Regions from separate parts of the Homo sapiens genome. Here regions 1 and 2 are each linked to region 3. The links are contacts of gene promoters, found by promoter capture Hi-C in blood cells and fetal thymus (Javierre and others, 2016). All regions are on one chromosome and are shown on one strand. The core of a region is centred on a gene start or on the middle of the fragment in contact, and the rest is flanking DNA. Distances in the headings are between cores, read along the strand shown.

Region 1 (2,700 bases), core at 175-2,674, 190 kb after region 3:
TTCTTCTTCTGTGTCTATTGAAAATCTTAATGATTAGAATGATAATAAGGATATAATATCCAATTGCCACAGTCCCCAACCTTTTTGGCACCAGGGACCAGTTTCATGAAAGACAATTTTTCCACGGACCTGGCGTTGGGGGAGGGAGTGGTTTCGGGATGACTCAAGTGTATTGCATTTATTGTACACTTTATTTCTATTATTATTACATTGTAATATATAATGAAATAATTATACAACTCACCATAATGTAGAATCAGTGGGAGCCCTGAGCTTGTTTTCCTGCAACTGGATGGTCCTATCTGGGGGTGATGGGAGACAGTGACAGATCATCAGGCATTAGATTCTCATAAGGAATACGCAACCTAGATTCTCATAAGGAACGTGCAAAGATCCCTCACATGTGCAGTTCACAATAGGGTTCATGCTCCTATGAGAATCTAATGCTGCCACTGATCTCACAGGAGCTGGAGCTGGGGCAGTAATCCAAGGGATGGAGAGCAGCTGTAAATACAGATGAAGCTTCACTGGCTCACTTGCCAGCTGCTCGCCTCCTGCTGTGCAGCCTGGTTCCTGTCAGGCTACAGACCAGTATCAGTCCATATCCCAAAAGTTGGGGACCCTGTTCTATTGGATAAGTCTTGTTCCAAACCTGTACAATTAGGTATATACCATTTGTATAAAATCACATTAATAGGAAGGTTATACACTACTTAAGTATATTTATCACGTACACTCCTTGCTCAGGAAAGATCTTTATTCTACTCCTCAATGGCATATACTTTCTGAGTCCATGAAAGCACCCTAAATGTTAAACAAGTACATCTTTTCAGAACCACTTGCCCCTCCTGCCACTGAGTAAGTGGCTGCCCGCTCCTTCCCCTGGGCCTCCCTTGCCTGAGGCTGGAATATTGGAGACCATTTCTGAGAAAGGTCTGTCTTAGGTCCTTATCATCAATGTATAAAAATGGAAAAAAGAAGCTCACGCATCTAAGAATCAGGATTTTGACTGTAAATCACATTTGCCCTTGTGTAATTAATCAAATAGAGGTTCATTTATTGTACTTTGTCATTATAAAACTTTAATTTCTGTTTGACTGAAAATATCCGCTGATGGTTATGTGACAGGGTTATGAACTCTGTATAAAAGCCTCTTTATAAATAAGGTTTCTTAACGGCTGTAATGATTTTGTTATCTGGGAGTGTGGGAAGAAATGTAAAATACAGGGCAGAGGGCAGTCAGTGAAGGCAAAGTTACAAAGTTCAAGGAAGCATGGTTACAAAACTCCTTTCTTTGGGTTGCTGACATTGTCCTGCATTTGGCTTTTTAGGGAAGAAAATGCACAAGAAAGGTGAATCTCATTTTAAATCAAGCTCCCCTACAGTGTATGTATTTTCTTAATCATTGTCAATATGGAAACAAAACGATCCTTACACCACCTAAGTATGCCAAAATCTCCTTATTGATTGTCCACAATTCCAAACAATATGAACTTTGAGACAGGAGGTATACTCTCTCCCCCACGCCCCTGCCAGGCATGTGACAGTTGATTCTAGAAGGTTAACTCAGGAAATACATGGCCCTGTCAGCAGATGTCCCTAGATCCATCATCTTGTATGTAAGAGTTGAGCACCCACCACTGCTCTGAAATTGATTTTTTTCCCAAAAGGCTATCTGAAAACTGCTAAGACCATGCCTTAGTTAACTGTCCTTTTACGTTTCTTAAGCTCTTTGGTCCTGTTAGTGACTGCATGTGAAAGTTCTGTTTCCTCCACAGAACAGAGGAGTCAGAAGTTGTGAAAAACAAAGGCTTTCCAAGAAATGCTGTTGTACCAAAAAGCCCCCAGTCTTAGACATATTGTTTCATAAACCCCTAGGAAGTATCAGAGAAAGAGGTGTAACAGGAGAAAGAAATTATTTCATAGATACTATGTAGAAAGCACTCCAATTGTATGTATGTTTCAGTTTTTGTCCTCCAAAGATCTACATGTAACTCTGCTTTCCACTCATGCAATGATGAGCTTCCTACTGTTAACAAATTCTCGTGCATTATTTTCAACATGTTGCAATTTAGAGGAGACAAATTACTGATCCTTGACCTGTGCTCAATTCCCTCCCAACTAAGCAAGAGTTAGAACTGTAAGGAGAGAAGGGAAAAGAAGGTTAAATGTCTATTCCAGGACTCAGGAAATGACGTTAAGCTCCCTGGGCAGTATTCTGAAAGTAAAGAAAATAGTTCCATTTTATGATGTGTTTGATTTGGACCATAGATTGGAGTTGCACTTGACTTTGTTGACCACTTCCACTTAGAAACATGAAGCTTTCCAAAGCATTTGTTCTATTAGTGTGTTTCATCTTTGCTTTCACTGTTAAGATGATATGCTACCATTAATTTATTTTTCTAGCTTTATGTGGCCAGTGATGGCATGACAGAGGCAGGGAGCAATGGAAAAATGGTCTCCCCTTTATCTTCTTAAATTAAAGGTGAGCACAGGGTCCCAGGCATCAGTGTACAGTTGACCTCCAGCTTACATGCATGCATATACGTACCCAGGCACATTTTTTCAAGTTTCTTTAAAGTTTTTTTTTAAAAGGCATGCCTTCTTCAAACCAGTATCCTTTTGTAACAACTGCCTCACTCCTTTCTTTCCAGACAATTCCTGAGAAGAGTGATCTGCCCTCACGAACACCACTCTTAC
Region 2 (2,700 bases), core at 53-2,552, 170 kb after region 3:
GACTATTTGGCTCTACTGCTAAAGAAAGAGCATTTATTTATGAGATTTTTCATCTGTCACTGGCAGTGACCACAAAATTGGTCAGTACGTTAGTTGTATAATTTATTCAGGGCTAATTGCTAGCATTAATAATGACTTCAGAGTTGGAAGCATGGGATACAGATTGTGCTCACATATGTTACACATTTTTATGTATGAGAGTAGGAGTAAGTTATTTAAGAAGTACACACATACACGAAAATGTAGACAAAACTGTTGAATGTGCCCAGATAGTGACATTTAGTAAGGAGAACTTTGATCTGTTTAATCTGTACGTGTACTGTTTGATATGAGTCTCAAAAACTGGTGGACATTATCTTTCAGTTCATTTCCTGTGCAGTACTTCACTAGACTTATCATTTCTTAATTCTGGAAGGTGTATGTTTATAAAGATAAATTAGGAAAAATATAGTAAATATTGATTTAAAGGGATAGAAACACATTTTTTGTTTCCGGATCCCTGTCTGCATCTTATCCCTGTCTCCATCTTTATTCAAATGGGTGACTCGCCAAGTTTTTCACAAAGTTCTAATAAAAAGGAAGTATAGCAGTGCAGCTGAGAGTTTTGCAGACTAGACTATTCTAAAATTGTATATTTTGAATTATTTCCATATGTTCACATCCTTTGGGATATAATTGTAATGATATTTCAGGCTCTATTCTGGCATTAAGTTTTATTCTGGGATAACATAGTCAATAAAAATTTGAACGATATTCAGTACAGAGAAGGATAATACTTAGAAGTAGTGGTTTGGGCTTCAACACAGTAGGAGATGAAAACTTAGAAATCTATGTGAAAATACAGAGGTGTGAAAGGCAATGTGAAACACTTAAAAAAAGTAAAATGTTTTGTTAATAAAAGTAATAGTAACGATGGCCTCCATTTATTGAGAGCCTACCATGTGCCAAGCACTGTGAGCATTTGTTTACATACGTTCACTTAGCCTGCAAAATAGATGGTGATGTTCCATTTTATAGGTGAGGAACCTAAGGCTCAAAAAACTAAAAGCATTTTGTCTGAAGTCACTACACTGTAAAGGCAAGATTGAAACTCAGCTTGTAGTTTAGCTGATAGTATTGTATCTGTCAGTTTCCAAAGGCCATGGTTCTTTTCATCCATCTATACCCAGTATCAGTAAACCTTTACTGTAAGAAACAGAGAGCACGTATTTTAGAGTTTGCAAGCCATACAGTCACTGTTGCAGCTACTCAGCACTGCCATCATAGCGTGAAAACAGCCATAGACTATTTATAAATGAATGGGTGTGGCAGTGTCCCAATAAAACTTTATTTACAGAACCAAGTGGTGGGCCAGGTGTGGACTGTGGGTATTAGTTTGCTGACCTTTGATCTATATTTTTGTAAGTTTAACTAGATGCTGGTTGAAAGTAAAAGCCTTAGGGATAAACCAAAGGCTAAAATTGATAGCAGATGATTCTTGGTGACCTAAGTCAAGAGAATAAAATAACTGAAACCAGGACCCAGACAGAGCAGCCTGTTCCTCTAGTCCCAGCCACTTGGGAGGCTGAGACAGGAGGATCACTTGAGCCTAGGAGTTCAAGTACAGCTTGAGCAGCATAGCAAGACCCAGTCTCTTAAAAAAAAAAAAAAACTGCCAAGAAAAAAAATAATAATAATAACTGAAAACTTGAAACTACAAGTCCTATGGAAAAAGAAAGCCCTTGTATGTGTCAAGCACTGTCATTTATAAATGATGTTTAGCTCTAAACAAACAAAAACCTTGAGCTATATTCTTCAAAACTGTCAAAGCCTTAGAAACAAGGCCAAGAAATTCACAGATCGGAGGACCAGAGGCAGTGTGGTATCCTGGCTTGATCCTGGGATATCAAAATGACACTCATGGGAAAAAAACTGGTGAAATCCAAATAAAACTTGTACTTTATGTAATAGTATTGTACTAATGTGAATTTCTTAGTTTTGATAAACATGCCATGGTCACATAACATGTTAACAGAAGCTAGGTAAAGAGTATACAGGAACTTTCTGTACTGCCTTTGTAACTTCTCTGCAAATCTGAGATTATTCCAAATAAAAAGCTACCTGGGCGTGGTGGCTCACGCCTGTAATCCCAGCCCTTTGGGAGGCTGAGGCAGGCGGATCACAAGGTCCAGAGTTCAAGACCACCCTGGCCAATATGGTGAAACCCCTTCTCTACTAAAAATACAAAAATTAGCTGAGCATGGTGCCGCGTGCCTGTAGTCCCAGCTGCTTGGGAGGCTGAGGCAGGAGAATCACATGAACCTAGGAGGCGGAGGTTGCAGTGAGCCAAGATCACACCATTGCACTCCAGCCTGGGCGGCAGAGTGAGACTCCATCTCAAAAGAAAAAAAAAAAAGAAAAAGCTAAAATGTATTTAAATTCCTAGGCTTGAATTTAGATGCCTAGCATCTATGTTAGAACCAGATGAATACCGAAGTACTAAAAGTAAACACAGTTAGGTTGAGATCTTGTTAAAAAATAATAGCAATACTTACCTGAATCATCCAAAATGGACTTTAAGCCTTGGCAGCATATATTCCCATTAAAACAATATTGTGCTGTCATTTCTGTACTTACAATGTCTCCTACGGAGAAATTCACTTCACTATTGGAAACAACAAAGCTGTTTGTTTTTTATAGTACTGTTGTTGATTGACAAAT
Region 3 (2,700 bases), core at 60-2,559:
GGGTGTAGAAGAATCTGTGTTTTTCTTCAAATGTTAATGGAGTGGTTTATTAGCACAGACCTTTTAAGCCAGGCCACGAAAAGGCAGCGGGATGTTTTCAAGTCCCCTTGGGCTGGCGAAGCGGGTACTTGCTGTACCTTATCAAGCACTGAACATTGAATACGTGTTGAAAACAGAGCAGATACGCAACCTTAGCAACCACTCACCTCTGCTATTTTAACAAAATGTTAAGCAAGCGAAAGAAAGAGAAAGAAAGACAGAAAGAAAGAAAGCAGATTAGCATACAAGGCAGGACATGCCACCTTTATATTCTGAGCTCTGTCCACAGTGAGCAGGCCGTGTCAAACATCGGGAGAGACAGAGAATGATTGATCATGCAAAGCAAACTGTAGGTTTGAATCCCAGCACGGCCATCTACGAGTTATAAAATCTTGCCAAACTACCTAATGTCTTGGTACATATACCTAGAAAACGAGAATGATCCCAACCTTTAAGATGAGAAGAGAACTGAATGGGAAAAGCGGGTGAGAACAGCTGACCCCAGCAGCCTCCCAGTAACCTAGTTTTCCCTTCCCATCTCCGTGTCTACGGTGTTTGGTGGCCTCATCAACTCCCGTCGCCTCCAGCAGCTCGTTCACTCAGTGAAGGTCCTAGACCGAATGGCCACCTTCCTGTATGTGGGTACTCATCACCCACCACCTTTCCGCTTTTCGGTGCTTTGCCCTTTTTATCTTATCTAGTAGCCAAAGCTGAGACTGTTGGGAGTCATTTCCAGCTCCGATGGTAGAGGAGTAGGGTTGAGGGGAAACGCCAAGGCGTGCTCCACGCCTGCCGTCCGCAGCCCCGTTGGGCTGTGGTACTCTTCTGACCAAAGTCTGGGTCACCGGGAAGCAAGAGGGAGCGCCACTAAAGGTATCTTTTGTGCCTTGTATTTAGCCACCGCATTGCCAGGATGGGAGTGGAGGCGGACGGTGCCCGACACCACGACTCAGGGAGCGATACCTGAGCTCGCTCGGCAATTCCCGGGCTCCGGGGACGGGCCTGGGCGGGGAAGGAGCCGGGGCGCGCAGCAGCACCCGGCGAGACTGCAGGGCGCCCGAGTGGTCGGACGGGGGAGCGAGAGCTAAAGCTTGCGGAGCGCGCCGAGCCGCGGGCGCTGGCGGCCCCGGCCGGGGAGCTGACGCGAGCCTGCCGGGCCGCGGGAGCTGCGGGAGGCGGAGGCCGAGCTGGGGGCGGAGCGGGCGGCGCCTGGGAGGCGGAGGCGGTGTCTCCCAGAGCTGCGCAGGCGTTGCTCGCACCTTGTTGATTAGTCAGTGCTGGGAGCGCTGCTATGGCGTTTCTCAGACCCGCGGCTCCTCCTCACACGCTCGAGGCGGAGGGAAGGAGGGGTAAGAGGAGGAGGAGGCGAGCGGGCGGCCGCCGCAGCTGCAGACCCAGGGCCAGAGGAGGAGGCGGAGCGGGAGCCGCCGCAGCCACCCGGGCCGCCGCCGCCGCCCGCAGCCGCGCGGCTGCTCTGAGTCTTCTCCGGGCGTGAGGGCACGCGGGGCGCCCCAGCCATGCCCCGCAGCGGCAGCTGAGCCGGGCGCCGGCCCCCTCCCTCCGGGCCGCCCCAGTCGCCGCGCCCCCCCGGCTGCCCGCGGCCGGAGCTGCCCGGCGCCTCCCGCGCGCCCCAGACCGCGAGCGCGAGCAGCGGCGGCCGCCGAGGCGCGGGTGGTGCCGGTGGCGGCGGCGGGGGAGCGCGGGACAGGAGGCTTCGGGGAAGATGGACCCGGCGCCCTCGCTGGGCTGCAGCCTCAAGGATGTGAAGTGGAGCTCGGTGGCCGTGCCGCTCGACCTCCTGGTCAGCACTTACCGGCTGCCCCAGATCGCGCGCCTGGACAACGGTGAGTCCCAGCTGGGGCGCGGGGCAGACGGGCGAGGACAGCCGTCTCCACGCGGGTGTGCGCGCGTGTGCTGGAGAGGGTGGGACCCGCGGGGAGTGGGCTGCCCGCCCCTGAGCGCCGGAGTTGGCCCGAGCGGCTGCCGCAGCCCTGGCGCGTTGCTCTCAACTCCCCCCAGCAGCAGACAAGGAGGTGGAAATCAGAGTCCTTGCAGTATAATTAAAAAGGACGCCCTAAAAAAAAAGTCAACATAGGGAGACCTCTGCAGATCGTAATCTTGGACGCCAGATATCCCTCCCCACCCTCCTGCAAGAATTACTCAACCAGGGAAACCCTGAAGAGTTATCTTAGGCAACTTTCTTGAGAATATCATTGTGCTCCGGGTGGCATCTTAATTTGGGTGCTCTCCTCCCTATCTCCCCCATCCCCCGCCAAACAGATTTAAAGGAAAAGCTCCTGGGTGACCATTGAAAAGGATCACATTTCTCAGAGACCTTGTATTACAGCTTGTCTGTTTTGTTTAACCCAACTGAAAGTAATTTGGGGCTGTGTGTAGAAAATGTTTTCAGCAGAAGTGATGGCATGCTTAAGGTTAACTATTAGGTTTAGCGCATTTCCAGTCTGGAAAAAAAAATAAGTCTCCAAAACGTATTGATTCGGAACCTGAGCTCAGAACTAAGAAGGGTGTATTTCCTGAAACTGACCACCAGAAACCCACCCAACTCCTTCCTCCAACTGTTTATTCTGCGGTGTGACAGCTGCAAACACATAGTTGCGCATACTGTCAAGCAAGTAGACACCTTTCAGTTGGAGAGTGATG

What was found. Contacts are between HindIII fragments. The CHiCAGO score rates a contact against its expected background, and 5 or more counts as called.
Region 1: a fragment that was not itself captured here is called in contact with the fragment with the promoter of GAREM1 in region 3 in 2 of 17 cell types (endothelial precursors and M0 macrophages); the score reaches 8.8 in endothelial precursors.
Region 2: a fragment that was not itself captured here is called in contact with the fragment with the promoter of GAREM1 in region 3 in 1 of 17 cell types (M0 macrophages); the score reaches 5.7 in M0 macrophages.

The regions. Positions count from the first base shown.
Region 1 is chr18:32,277,152-32,279,851 of GRCh38, reverse strand. All of the region lies in intron 4 of GAREM1 (GRB2 associated regulator of MAPK1 subtype 1), which reads left to right. Among named protein-coding and RNA genes, the nearest start is that of MEP1B, 88 kb to the right of the region's middle. The HindIII fragment of the contact is 1,799 bases long and covers 525-2,323 here.
Region 2 is chr18:32,295,659-32,298,358 of GRCh38, reverse strand. The region is part of intron 3 of GAREM1 (GRB2 associated regulator of MAPK1 subtype 1); the gene reads left to right. Among named protein-coding and RNA genes, the nearest start is that of MEP1B, 110 kb to the right of the region's middle. The HindIII fragment of the contact is 3,169 bases long and covers 1-2,700 here.
Region 3 is chr18:32,469,491-32,472,190 of GRCh38, reverse strand. It overlaps GAREM1 (GRB2 associated regulator of MAPK1 subtype 1), which reads left to right and starts at 1,309. Exons shown (of 6, transcript NM_001242409.2): 1 at 1,309-1,883. The coding sequence starts at 1,763. RefSeq lists a silencer at 1,035-1,554. The HindIII fragment of the contact is 2,356 bases long and covers 1,132-2,700 here.